Linked DNA regions of Homo sapiens: regions 1 and 2 are each linked to region 3. Evidence: promoter capture Hi-C in human tissues and cell types (Jung and others, 2019). All regions are on one chromosome and are shown on one strand. Each heading gives the region's core, a stretch centred on a gene start or on the middle of the fragment in contact. The rest is flanking DNA. Distances are from core to core; before and after follow the strand shown.

Region 1 (3,407 bases), core at 479-2,978, 54 kb after region 3:
GCATACCCAGGGCGTGGAAATGACAGGCCCTACCGAGACATTGGATGTGGAGGCAAGAACGAGGCAGGAATCACAGTGTACCCCCAATTCTGGCTCCCGTAGATGGCTGAATGGTGTCACCAGTGAGTGAGATGGGATTGCTGGGGCTAGAGAGGAACTGGTTTGCCAGATGGTGAGGGAATCAAGGGCTCCACTTTGGACATTTTACATTTAAAGCAAACCATGCCAGAAAGTGGACCTCAGGGAGGTAGAGAGCAGAATGGTGGGTACCAGAGGCAGGGAAGGGAAGGGGTGGATGAAGAGAAGTTGGCTAGCAGCCACCAAAATATAGTTAGGTCAAAGGAATAAGTCCTAGCATTTGATAGTACAGTAGGAAAATTAGAGTTAACAACCATTTATTGTATATTTCAAAATGGCTGTGAGAGGAGATTTGTAATGTTCCCAACACAAAGAAAAAATAAATGTTTGAGGTGATGGATATGGCAGTTGCCTGTTTCGATCACACACATTGTGTACATGTATCAAAATATCACATGTACCTGCCAAATTTGTACAACTATGATATATTAATTTTTAAAAAATAAAGCAAAGCATGCCTCCAAGTGGATTTGTCCTATAGGAAGCTGGATGGAGAAGTCGGGGGATTGGAGAGGATTGGGTGTCCTTTTGGAGATCCTTAGCATAGAAATGGCATCCTCATTAGAAAGGATGCTGTCACCCAGAAGAGAGCATAGAGGGGAGAAGAGAGGCTAGAGCCAGCCCTGGAAAGCCAACCTTTAGAGTTGTGCATCCATGCAGGGGGAGGCAGAGAGAAGCCTGCAACAGGTTCTGAAAAAGAACAGCCAAAGAGGAAGGAGACAGAGCAGTGGAGCTTCGGAAGCCAGGAGGAAAGTGAGGAAGTAGTTAGGTAAATCCAGTGCAAAGGTCAAGTAAGATAAAAACAGAAAGCCGGTTATTTGGATTTGCAATATGGAGGTGTTAAGCGGCTTGGACAGGAGTCGTTTGGAGAAGTCTGAGGACAGAAGCTGGGTTAGAGTGGGTTTGATGAGCACACAGGTGATGGGAAGTCAACATTGTTGACAGCTCTTGCAACAGTTAGTTTTGAGGTGACAGGGTGGCAGAGAAAGGCATAGGCAGCAGTAGGAGGCTGAGGAATAAAACGGGTATGCTGGTAAATGTTTAGCAATGCACCCTCTGGAAAGTCAAAGCCTCCATTTGTGGTAATATGAATACTCTCACCATGGCTAACATCAAGCTACCAACATGTTGTCAAACAGCTCATAAAATTCCTGAAAAATCTAGCATTGGCCCCTGGGAGGCACTATCACCCAGCTCCAGCACACCACATCATCGGGGAAGGGCTCTTCTCAGAGAGGTGGGCACTAAAACACACTGGCAAGCCCTTGGAAAGCCCTCCTGAGTAGAAAGAGAGAGCATTGTTTCAGGACAGCAAATGCATGAGCAGGGAAGGTGAGACAGGAGGGAACAAGGTGCCAGGTGCTAATAGGTTTGTTGATTTGAGGGTGGGAAGAGAGGAGAGGCCCCTTTCATGTCTGCCCTTTTGTAAGTGAAAAAAACAAAAATAAAGGCCTTCAGCTGACAGTGATTGGAAGTGGTCTGGATGGAGTGGGAGGATGGTTATGGTGGAGGTGTGTGAACAGGAGTAGGAGAGGAACAGGAAGGTGTGGAGGGTAAGGGGGATGGGATCTGATATAGTTTGGATGTTTGTCCCTGCCAAATTTCATGTTGGAATTTGATCTCCAGTCTCGGAAGTGGGGCGTAATGGGAGGTGTTTGGGTCATGGGGGCAGGGCAGATCTCTCATGAATGGCTTGGTGCCGTCCCCAAGGTAATGAGTGAGTTCTTGCTCTATTAGTTCAAGTGAGAGCTGGTTGCTGTAAAGAGCCTGGCATGGACCAGGCACAGTGGCTCATGCCTTGTAATCCCAACACTTTGGGAGATCAAAGCAGGATTGCTTGAGGCCAAGAGTTTGAGACCAGCCTGGACAACACAGCAAGATCTCATCTCTACAAAAAAAAATTTTTTTAATTAGTTTGGTATGGTGGTGTGCACCTGTAGTCCCAGCTACTCGAGAGGCTGAGGTGGGAGGATCACTTGAGCCCAGGAGCTCAAGGCTGCAGTGAGCTATGATTGTGCCACTGCACTCCAACCTGGGTGACAGAGCAAGGCCCTGTCTCAAAATAAATAAAATTTAAAAATAAATAAACAAAATAAAATAAAGAGTCTGGTACCTCCTTCTCTTTCTTTCTCCCTTTCTCGCTGTGTGACATGCTGGTTTTCTGTCATGACTGGAAGCTTCCTGAGGCCTCACCAGGAGCAAATGCTGGTCCCATGCTTCTTGTATAGCCTGCAGAACTGTGAGCCAAATAAACCTTTTTTAAAGAAATTACCCAGCCTCATGTATTCCTTTATAGCAACATGAAATGGACTAAAACAGATTGAGAGACTGGGGAGAATATAATGACACAGTGCAGGGTGTAACCTGCCTGTGGGTGGCTGCTGTCAAGACTATTGAGTAAAGAGCCGGAGAGGCCAGTGTAGTGGATGTGCCATCTCCCTGAACACTGAAGTGACCACGAATGCTGCAAGAGTTGGGGTGGAAAGGAAGACAGGCAGCCAGGAGTGAAAACCCTTAGTACATGAGTGTGTGTATGTGTGTGTGTGTGTGGGGGGTGGGTAGCGGGAAAAATCCTGGAAGTCTGTGTGTGACATTCATTAGGAGGAGGAAGAGGTGACATGTGAGCATGTGAGTGGTGTGAGGGAGGGAGAGACATGGTCTGCAAGTGGTAATGTGACTCAGGAACACACAAATTTGTTTCTGGTCCTGAGATCCAAGCGGGGATGTGTGAGAGAGAAACAGTCTCTCATGGGTCGGACTGCAGTGTGGAACATTCTCAGGGTCAGCTAGGCTCTCCCGAAGGAATGAGGTAGAGCTGGAGGGGTTTGCTGATTGTAGAGGGGTGACTCCTGGGGGGTCAATGGAGGGTTGGTGGGGATTGGGTCCCATTGGGATGAACACAGCGGTATGGTGTGTGATCCTGGGTGATCAGAGAGGCCTGGATTTCTGGCAGTGATTATGGTAAGAATGGATGTGAGGCATGCAACCTTGTTTGGAGGCAGCACATTCCACACCAGTATGCCTCCAACATTATCAACAAGATGTCAGGCTTGAGGAGCTATGAGACATTACCTGATTTAACCTCAGTGAACTGAAAATCTACAAGCATCATCTGGCATCCCCCAATCACCGAGTTCCTTCATTTAGAATCTCCTGAGTTCCAGCTCAGTTTTCTGGCAACAAATTTTGATTTCTTGGCCTAGGATACTCCTGTCTCAGAGAGGTTGTCTTTCCGAAATTTAACTTCACATTTCTTTCATGTGTTCCCT
Region 2 (3,837 bases), core at 1,173-3,672, 34 kb after region 3:
CTTGTAATCCCAGCTATTTGGGTGGCTGAGGCAGGAGAATCACTTGAACCCGGGAGGCGGAGGTTGCAGTGAGCCGAGATCAGGCCAGTGTGCTCCAGCCTGGGAGACAGAGTGAGACTCCTGTTTCAAAAAAAGAAAAAAATACAAAATACAAAAATTAGCCGGGCGTGGTGGCACGTGCCTGTAATCCCAGTTATTTAAGAGGCTGTGGTGGGAGGATCACTTGAACTCAGGAGGCAGAGACTGCAGTGAGTCAAGATCACACCACTGCATTCCAGCCTGGGCAACAGAGTGAGACCCTGGCTAAAAAAATAAAATAAAATAAAATAATAAAAATTAAAAAAATTCACATTTAAGATTTTTAAAGAATGTTTACTACATTGGATTTCTATATTAAGAACTTTATTGGCTGGGTGCGGTGGCTCACATCTATAATCCCAGCACTTCTCGAGGCCAAGGCAGGGGGATCACTTGAGGTCAACTGTTCAAGATCAGCCTAGCCAACATGGTGAAACCCCACGTCTACTAAAAATACAAAAATTAGTTGGGTGTGGTGGCATGTGCCCGTAATCCCAGCTATTCAAGAGGCTGTGGTGGGAGGATCACTTGAACCCGGGAGGCAGAGGTTGCAGTGAGCTGAGATCTTACCACTGCATTCCAGAGTGAGACCTTGCCTAAAAAAAAAAAAAAAAATTCATGTTTAAGATTTTTAAAGAATGTTGTTTACTACATTGAGTTTCTATATTAAGAACATCATTGGCCCAGCGTGGTGGCTCATGCCTGTAATCTCAACATTTTGGGAGGTGGAGGTGGGTGGATCGCTTGAACCTAGGAGTTCGAGACCAGCCTGGCGCAACCTCATCTCTACTAAAAATACAAAAAATTAGCCGGGAGGGGTGGCGCGTGCCTGTAGTCACAGCTACTCAGGAGGCTGAGGTGGGCAGATCTCTTGAGCCCAGGAAGTTGGGGCTGCAGTGAGCCCAGATCACAACACTGCACTCCAGCCCGGGAAATGACAGTGAGACCCTGCCTCAAAAATAAATAAATAAATAAATAAATAAATGAGAAGAACTTCATCTTTTATAAGTGTAATTTATTAAAGGCATGCTATAGTCTTGGACTCAGTGATTTTTACTTACGGGAGAATCTAGGCATTGAAAAATCTAAGGTACTACTGCTCACCTGCTTCCAATGTGGCAGCTTGCTTAAACTGTGAGCAGGATTCCAGGAGGAAACAAACTGACTGGAATCTAGCCTTGCAGACCCAAACCTGCAAGGCGATCGCAAACAAACCCGCAAGGCCATCGCAAACATCCCTAGGTATTTCAAACCTCATTAGGATTCACATGTTTCTTTTTTTTAAGGTGCCATAACTAGGACTCTCTATTGATTTTTTTTTTTTTAACGTAGATCTACCTTTGTTCAGAGAGATTTTTGAGCTTGCCACTGGGTCCCAGGGGGGAAGTGGTCAGACCGTTGCAAAAGCAGCAGCAAGTGAAAAAGAGGAAGGCCCCAGCAAAGGAGCGGAACAGAGGCCGGGAGAGGCGACCCTGCCGACGATGCTCATGTCAGAGGGGCGTCCACAGTTGATCATAATCTTTTCAAGTCCAGGAAATTAATCAGCAATGGGAAAAGGAGTCTAAGATGAATAAAAGGATGTCCGACAATGTGGGCAGAACAGCATGCTAAGAAATCTGGGTGGGCATATTCCATAGGAAAGTGTAATAGTAGGCAGGAGGCAGCTGTGGGGCTAGCAACCAGTCCCCAGCCTCAGGATGAAAGATCTAGAAAAAGGGACCTGGCAAAGGCCCTAGAAGAAGATCACTGGGCAGGAAACCAGGACCAGATCTGAGGTCTAGGAATAGAGCGGGGAAATGGGGAGGGAGGAGGACACCTCAAGTAGCAAGGGATAGTTTGTCGTTAAGTCCTCGAACTGATTTATTTCATATAGACCTCTATTGACAAGGAACAGCTTTCCTGATAGTTTCAGCAATGCGTGGGAAAATAAAAGGTCCATAGTAACCTACACAAGGTAAACCAACATGAATAGCCCACCAGAAGGCAAGGTGAAGGCGAGCTGAAACCATTCTTCAGGTGCTAGATGCTGAGGAGCCTTGGAGACCTCCTAGCTGAAGGTTATCAAAGAAACACAACTCAATAAGCCTCTGCCTTGTTAAGTTTAAGTTCTGCTAATCTTTTTGTGAGAAGACTGTGGGGACTAACCTGCCTCTGTGCTGGCAGCGATAAAGTGAATTGGAAATGCCAGTAGGGTGTGTGGACAGATGGAGACAGGCATCTGGAGCTGCTGGGGACAGACAGCTATTTCTGTTGAAGAGAACAAAAGATGCAAAGAGTCCCTTTTCCCCACTCCCCTCCAACTCTGAGCATTTCTTCTCTGAAACGTTTTCTTTTCTTTCTCATTCATAGAATATAAACTATGTTCAGAAAAAAAATAAGAGTTGATGATAGGGGAAGTTCACTCCTGAATATCTTCCTCCACTATTCATTGGTTTGGGATTGCAACCTGCCTTTGCCCATTGCTGTCATTCTTCAGAGGTAGATGTTTGCAAAAATGTCCAGAGCAGCTGGACCTCAAATCTAAAATTGCTGTAGTAGAAGACTCTCCTCCACTGATCCCTTGAAGCACATCCATGGAATGCCATTGGAAAACTGCCACTGGAGGGCATTAGACATCATTTAATTTGCTCCATGATGACTTTTGACCTCTGAATTCATTTCACATGGATGACCAGGCTAGTCCCATCGTCACCCTCAGACACTTATTTGTCTATTTCTAGGGGCAGAAAACAGTGCAAGCCTTGCAGATATAAGGCGATCCTTTAAGGGGCTCGCAATCTAGTTGGGACACATATATAAAAAGATAACAACTACAGTAGGTTCCAATCAAAGTAGCACATTATATGTAAAAGCCACAGCAACACAGCTCTCAGGGGCAGCAAGCATTTTGCAAAAACAGAGAGAACTCTCCCAAGAAGGTGAACTCACAATATCACAGGGTCTTATACACTCTGCTGCCCTAACTCTCACTTCATCTTGGCTAAGCATAGGAGTGAACTACATTTTTCATTATTAAAGATATGTATTAAACAATTAGGATATGCCCAATTTATACTATTTAGGGATTGTTCCACTTCGTTTTCCCCAAATCTATTTCTACAGACCAGGAGCTATAATTTTTTCCCCTAAGCTTATAAATAAAATAACGCCGGGTGCGGTTGCTCATGCCTGTAATCCCAGCACTTTGGGAGGCTGAGGTGGGCGGATTACCTGAGGTCAGGAGTTCGAGACCAGCCTGACCAACATGGAGAAACCCCATCTGTACTAAAAATATAAAATTAGCCGGGTGTGGTGGCGCATGCCTGTAATCCCAGCTACTGGGGAGGCTGAGGCAGGATAATTGCTTGAACCCAGAAGGTGGAGGTTGCGATGAGCAGAGATGGTGCCATTGCACTCCAGCCTGGGCAACAAGAGCTAAACTCCATTTCAATAAATAAATAAATATAAATAACATGATTACATGTAAACAAAAAATAGAATATGATCATTTATTCATTCATTCATCCGTTCAAGAAGCACTAAGTGGCCTTGGCTTTTACTGCTGGCTTGACTCAGCTCTGTTGGGCAAAGGGCAGAGGACTAAGCAACTGGGAGTGAAGCAATTAGAGGATGATTTTCACATTATAAAGAGTCCCAGAGGGTTCCTTTTAGTGTGCTTCCCCAGGGGATTTAAATATTTAAATATTGTTATACAGATCCTTAAGTCTTGCAGCTGGGGAAGATGGGAAGGACAGCTGAGGGTGGTCAGGCAAAAAGCAA
Region 3 (3,800 bases), core at 1,272-3,771:
TATTCAAAGATTACATAGTACCTGAAGGAAGGCAGACCCAGGTTCATAATGACGCAAGAGAACTCTGCAGTGGGGAACCGTGGCTTCTTACTAGACATTGCTTCCCGGATATGCAGCCTCTCAGTTGAGCATGAAAGCCCTGATGCGGTTTGTAAAGTAGGCGGTAGCTGATTGTTTTACTGTGAGATGCTTGTTAACCAGACAGAGAAACTATGAGTTTTCAAAAGCACCCATGATGCCGACTGAGCTAACATGAACTAACAGAGTGTTCTGTTAACTGTTAGGTAAAGAGGTTCTCAGCTTGCCAATGTTAGTCCTTTCTTCCCAAAAAAGTGCAAATAAAAAAAAAAAAGAAATTCAGAGTTGCAAAACTGCTGCCCCATTTAAGTAAATTATAATCTAAGAAAAATCACAAGAGGATCCCACTCACATTTCTGTAAAGTTTCCACTGATCTAAGATGCTTCCAATTACAAAGAAAACGATGCTTCACTAAAGTCAGCATGTTTTCAAAATAAAGATATAATTATGTGAAGCAGAAAATCTAATAAATCACGTACTTTTCCCTCCGTAATTTTAGATTCATGTAATTTAGCTAGATTTATCTTTACATAATAGTCGAGTGAGGTATTTAAATTCTCTAAGCAATTATATTTTAATACAAGTGACTTTTCAAAACAAAAAATGTATTTGTGAAATAGAAAATACAACATTTTATTTAATATAGTTATGTTAGCACCTTTCCCAACCTACAGTGAGTTCTCAGAAGTTACCACTTCGCCCTGTCTCCGGGTTTAGTAGTTTCTCCAATCTAATTGGAACTATTACTTGTTACTTGGAAACTGACGGTCTAGTTAGTCTTCCCACTGAGAAAGAATATTTAATTATTACTGCTTTTTGGGTTTAACAAGCTTTTTGTTGTTGTTGTTGTTGTACTACGCTCCATCCTATTGACTTTTCTTCCCGGGAATCATTGCAATGACTTATTTTATATTACTATATTTTATTTCATATTTTACCTTTTCTCCACGATGCTTAAAAGAAAGGCGCTCCGAAATCTGGCTCTCTGCGCCCAGGGGAACGAGGCACAAATCTCCGCCACTCAGCCCCACTGAGCAGAGACTGCGAGTCCGAACCCTCAAGTTCCTCGGGGCTTTGACCCCTCAATGGCGGCGGTCTAACTGCTGGTAAAACCCCCGGCCCCTGACTGTTCCACCGCCCGTCTCCCAAACGCCCAGCGAAGGCTGACTTAGGTGGCGGGCGGACCTCATCGATTCCTCAAACCACATCGTTTGGTCAAAATCGCCCGCCCTCTCTTCGCTCGGATTTTAAAGGCTAGGCTTGTAAGTCAGTAAGTTAACGGTATTTGGGCCCTGGGCTGCCCTTGTGGGTCAGGGTCACTGATGTCCGCGACACGGACTGGACCGCGCACCACGCCTGCTCCCGGCAGAGGCCCCACCCGGGTGGCTGAGCGCAGCGCACTGGGGCCCCGCGGTCCGAGAGCGGCGGGGAGGAGCGGGCGCTCGCCGAGCGTTCCCCGGGACAGTCCGGCTTGGGGACTCAAGCGGGTCATGGGATGCCGGCGCTGGCCCTCTCCTGAGATCCTCCTGCTCCCCCGCAGGCACGAGTCCCCTCCAAATCGGCTCCCCTCCTACACTCTCGTGACGCGAGGTCGCGGCCAGTGCCCAATATCACCAAAGTCCCGGCCTCAGCCCAGCCCCGGGCAGCCTGGCAGGCTTTCAGGAGCCTCTGCTCCCGGCTCCGGGGGACCCTGCGTACCTGCCCCAGGTCCTCTGGGAATGGGCTCTGGGTGCCAGGCAGGTCCCGGTGCGTGCTGCTCCTAGTGCCCAGGGCCTCGGCAGTGAGACCCCAACCCGACAGCTGGATAAGGGATCAGCGATCCTGTCGCAAACGGACAGCCCCAGCGCGGACCCGGTCTGAGCGCTGATGCTCGCGGGTCCAGGCCAGCCACTCCTCGAGGCGCTCCCTCGGAGAAAGGGCGCAGCGGCCCCAAGCGTGCCCGCTGCAACTAGTGTCCCAGGTTCTCGCCGTAGCCAGCTTCTCCGGGCTACAGCCTCGTCTCCCCGCGTGCACCCCGCCCTGGCCTCGGAGGCTCTGCCCTCCGGCCGCCCCATCGCAGCCCGCCTCAGGCCCCGGCCCCCAGCCGCGCCTCACCTGTGAGAAGCAGACAGCTGAGCAGCGCGCACAGCAGGACCCCGGTGTCCCAGTAGCTGACCATGGTGAGCGCGACGCGGCCTGCTCGCCCGGTGCCCGCGCTCCCCGCGGCCAACGACCCGGCCGCCAGAGTCCGTCCTCTCGTTCGCCGCCGCCGGCCCCGCGCCCTGAGCGCCCGTCTCGCGGCTCCAGCCAGGAGACAACCACTTCCCCGGGTAATCCTCGCCGCCAGGCGCCCGCTGGCCGCTGCACCCGAGCCCCGGAGCCCGCTCCGAGCCGCCGCCGCTGCCGGGGAGGAGCCGAGAGGAGTGTCCGCCTGGCGCGCTCCGAGCCTCCCGCGGACCTCGATGAAGAGCAGCCGAGGGCGGGGGCGATTTATAACCTTTCCCCAGCCCACTTCCTACCCCGGCACCTCCTTCTGGTGACGTCAAGGGGTCCCCCACCCCTCATCCGCCTCCCCACCTACCCTCTTCTTCCTCCCAGGCTCGCTTCCCTGCGGCTACGGAGAGGGGCGGGGGCCGACGAGGGCGGGTGGCCCGGGGCCGAGCGCGCGTGGGGAGGTGCTGGCGACGCGGGCCCGGGAGCGCGGCCCCGGCAGGTTCAGGGTCTTTGCTCCGCGCCCTCTTGCCCTTGCCCCTCCTCCTGCCCATCGCGCTCAGGAAATCCTTGCAGACTCCCTCCACCCGGCTTACTCAGCTCTGGGGGCCGCCCGAAACTGGGGAAGGGACAAGGCTGAAGCTCCGCCGCCTGGCCCTAGGGGCGGAAAGTCCGATCCAAGGGAAGCTGGCCGCGCCTCCGCGACGGTGTTCTTGGCACGGAGGACTGAGGCGCAGTCCGGCTGTCTCCCCTTGCCTGCTCTTCCCGCGCTGTCCCGCCGCTCCTGACCCCTTCAGACTGTCCCGAGAAGTCTAGGAAGGCACCGGAGACCCTCGGCACAAGGCACTGAACCTGGAGCGCCTGAGGGGAACTGACGCTTGCTTGGCACCTTTGGGAAGACTGCGAACCAGCTCAGGTCCCAGGGGAGCGTGTCCGTGTCTTTTTCGGCCGCATTGATGCACCCGCCCAAGTCATTTCCTCAGTCTTCTGCTTCCTAGAAGCAAAACAAGGAATAACATTATGATACCTTTAAAAAGCTGAGGCGTGAAACTGCTCCTGCAACTTGGAAGCGCAGGGCACTTGAACTTTATTCCCTAAATGCTCGAAAAAGAAATCTTTCTGGTGGCAGCTTGCTACTCAAGATGAGTGACTCTGACCACAACCGGCTGAAATTAACTTGAGGCCCTAGATCATTTGCTATGACACTAATTCCACGTTGTTCCTCAATTATGTCTCCATTACCTCAAAGGCTGAAGTCGTCCTGGCTGCACGGAGCAGCCCAGTCTTGTCTCTGTAAATACCGCAGATTTGAAAAATAGTCCTATTGGAACCCGTCAGAGGGATGTAATACAAGGGACTGTGATGGCTCTTGAACGGAGCCAGAGACTCTTCCTGAAGGACTGGACTACCTCCCCGCCTAGGAAGGTTGGGTAACCCAAAGTTGCCACATTTCTGGGCTGCACACCAAGGAGAGGCCCCGGCCACTCCACACAGGAAATGCACGTCTGGGCACCTGGAGCCGCAGGACCTG

Evidence for each region. The method cuts DNA at HindIII sites, captures the fragments that hold promoters and counts their contacts. A contact is called where the count stands out against the background at its distance.
Region 1: a contact is called between a fragment that was not itself captured here and the fragment with the promoter of FLT1 in region 3, in 1 of the 25 tissues and cell types used here (IMR-90 fibroblasts).
Region 2: a fragment that was not itself captured here is called in contact with the fragment with the promoter of FLT1 in region 3 in 1 of the 25 tissues and cell types used here (psoas muscle).

The regions. Positions count from the first base shown.
Region 1 is chr13:28,547,737-28,551,143 of GRCh38, forward strand. No RefSeq gene overlaps it. Among named protein-coding and RNA genes, the nearest start is that of FLT1, 54 kb to the left of the region's middle. The HindIII fragment of the contact is 5,915 bases long and covers 1-3,407 here.
Region 2 is chr13:28,526,362-28,530,198 of GRCh38, forward strand. No RefSeq gene overlaps it. Among named protein-coding and RNA genes, the nearest start is that of FLT1, 33 kb to the left of the region's middle. The HindIII fragment of the contact is 3,033 bases long and covers 907-3,837 here.
Region 3 is chr13:28,492,607-28,496,406 of GRCh38, forward strand. It overlaps FLT1 (fms related receptor tyrosine kinase 1), which reads right to left and starts at 2,522. Exons shown (of 30, transcript NM_002019.4): 1 at 2,174-2,522. The coding sequence starts at 2,237. RefSeq lists silencers at 2,008-2,057, 2,138-2,257, 2,378-2,427. The HindIII fragment of the contact is 17,639 bases long and covers 1-3,800 here.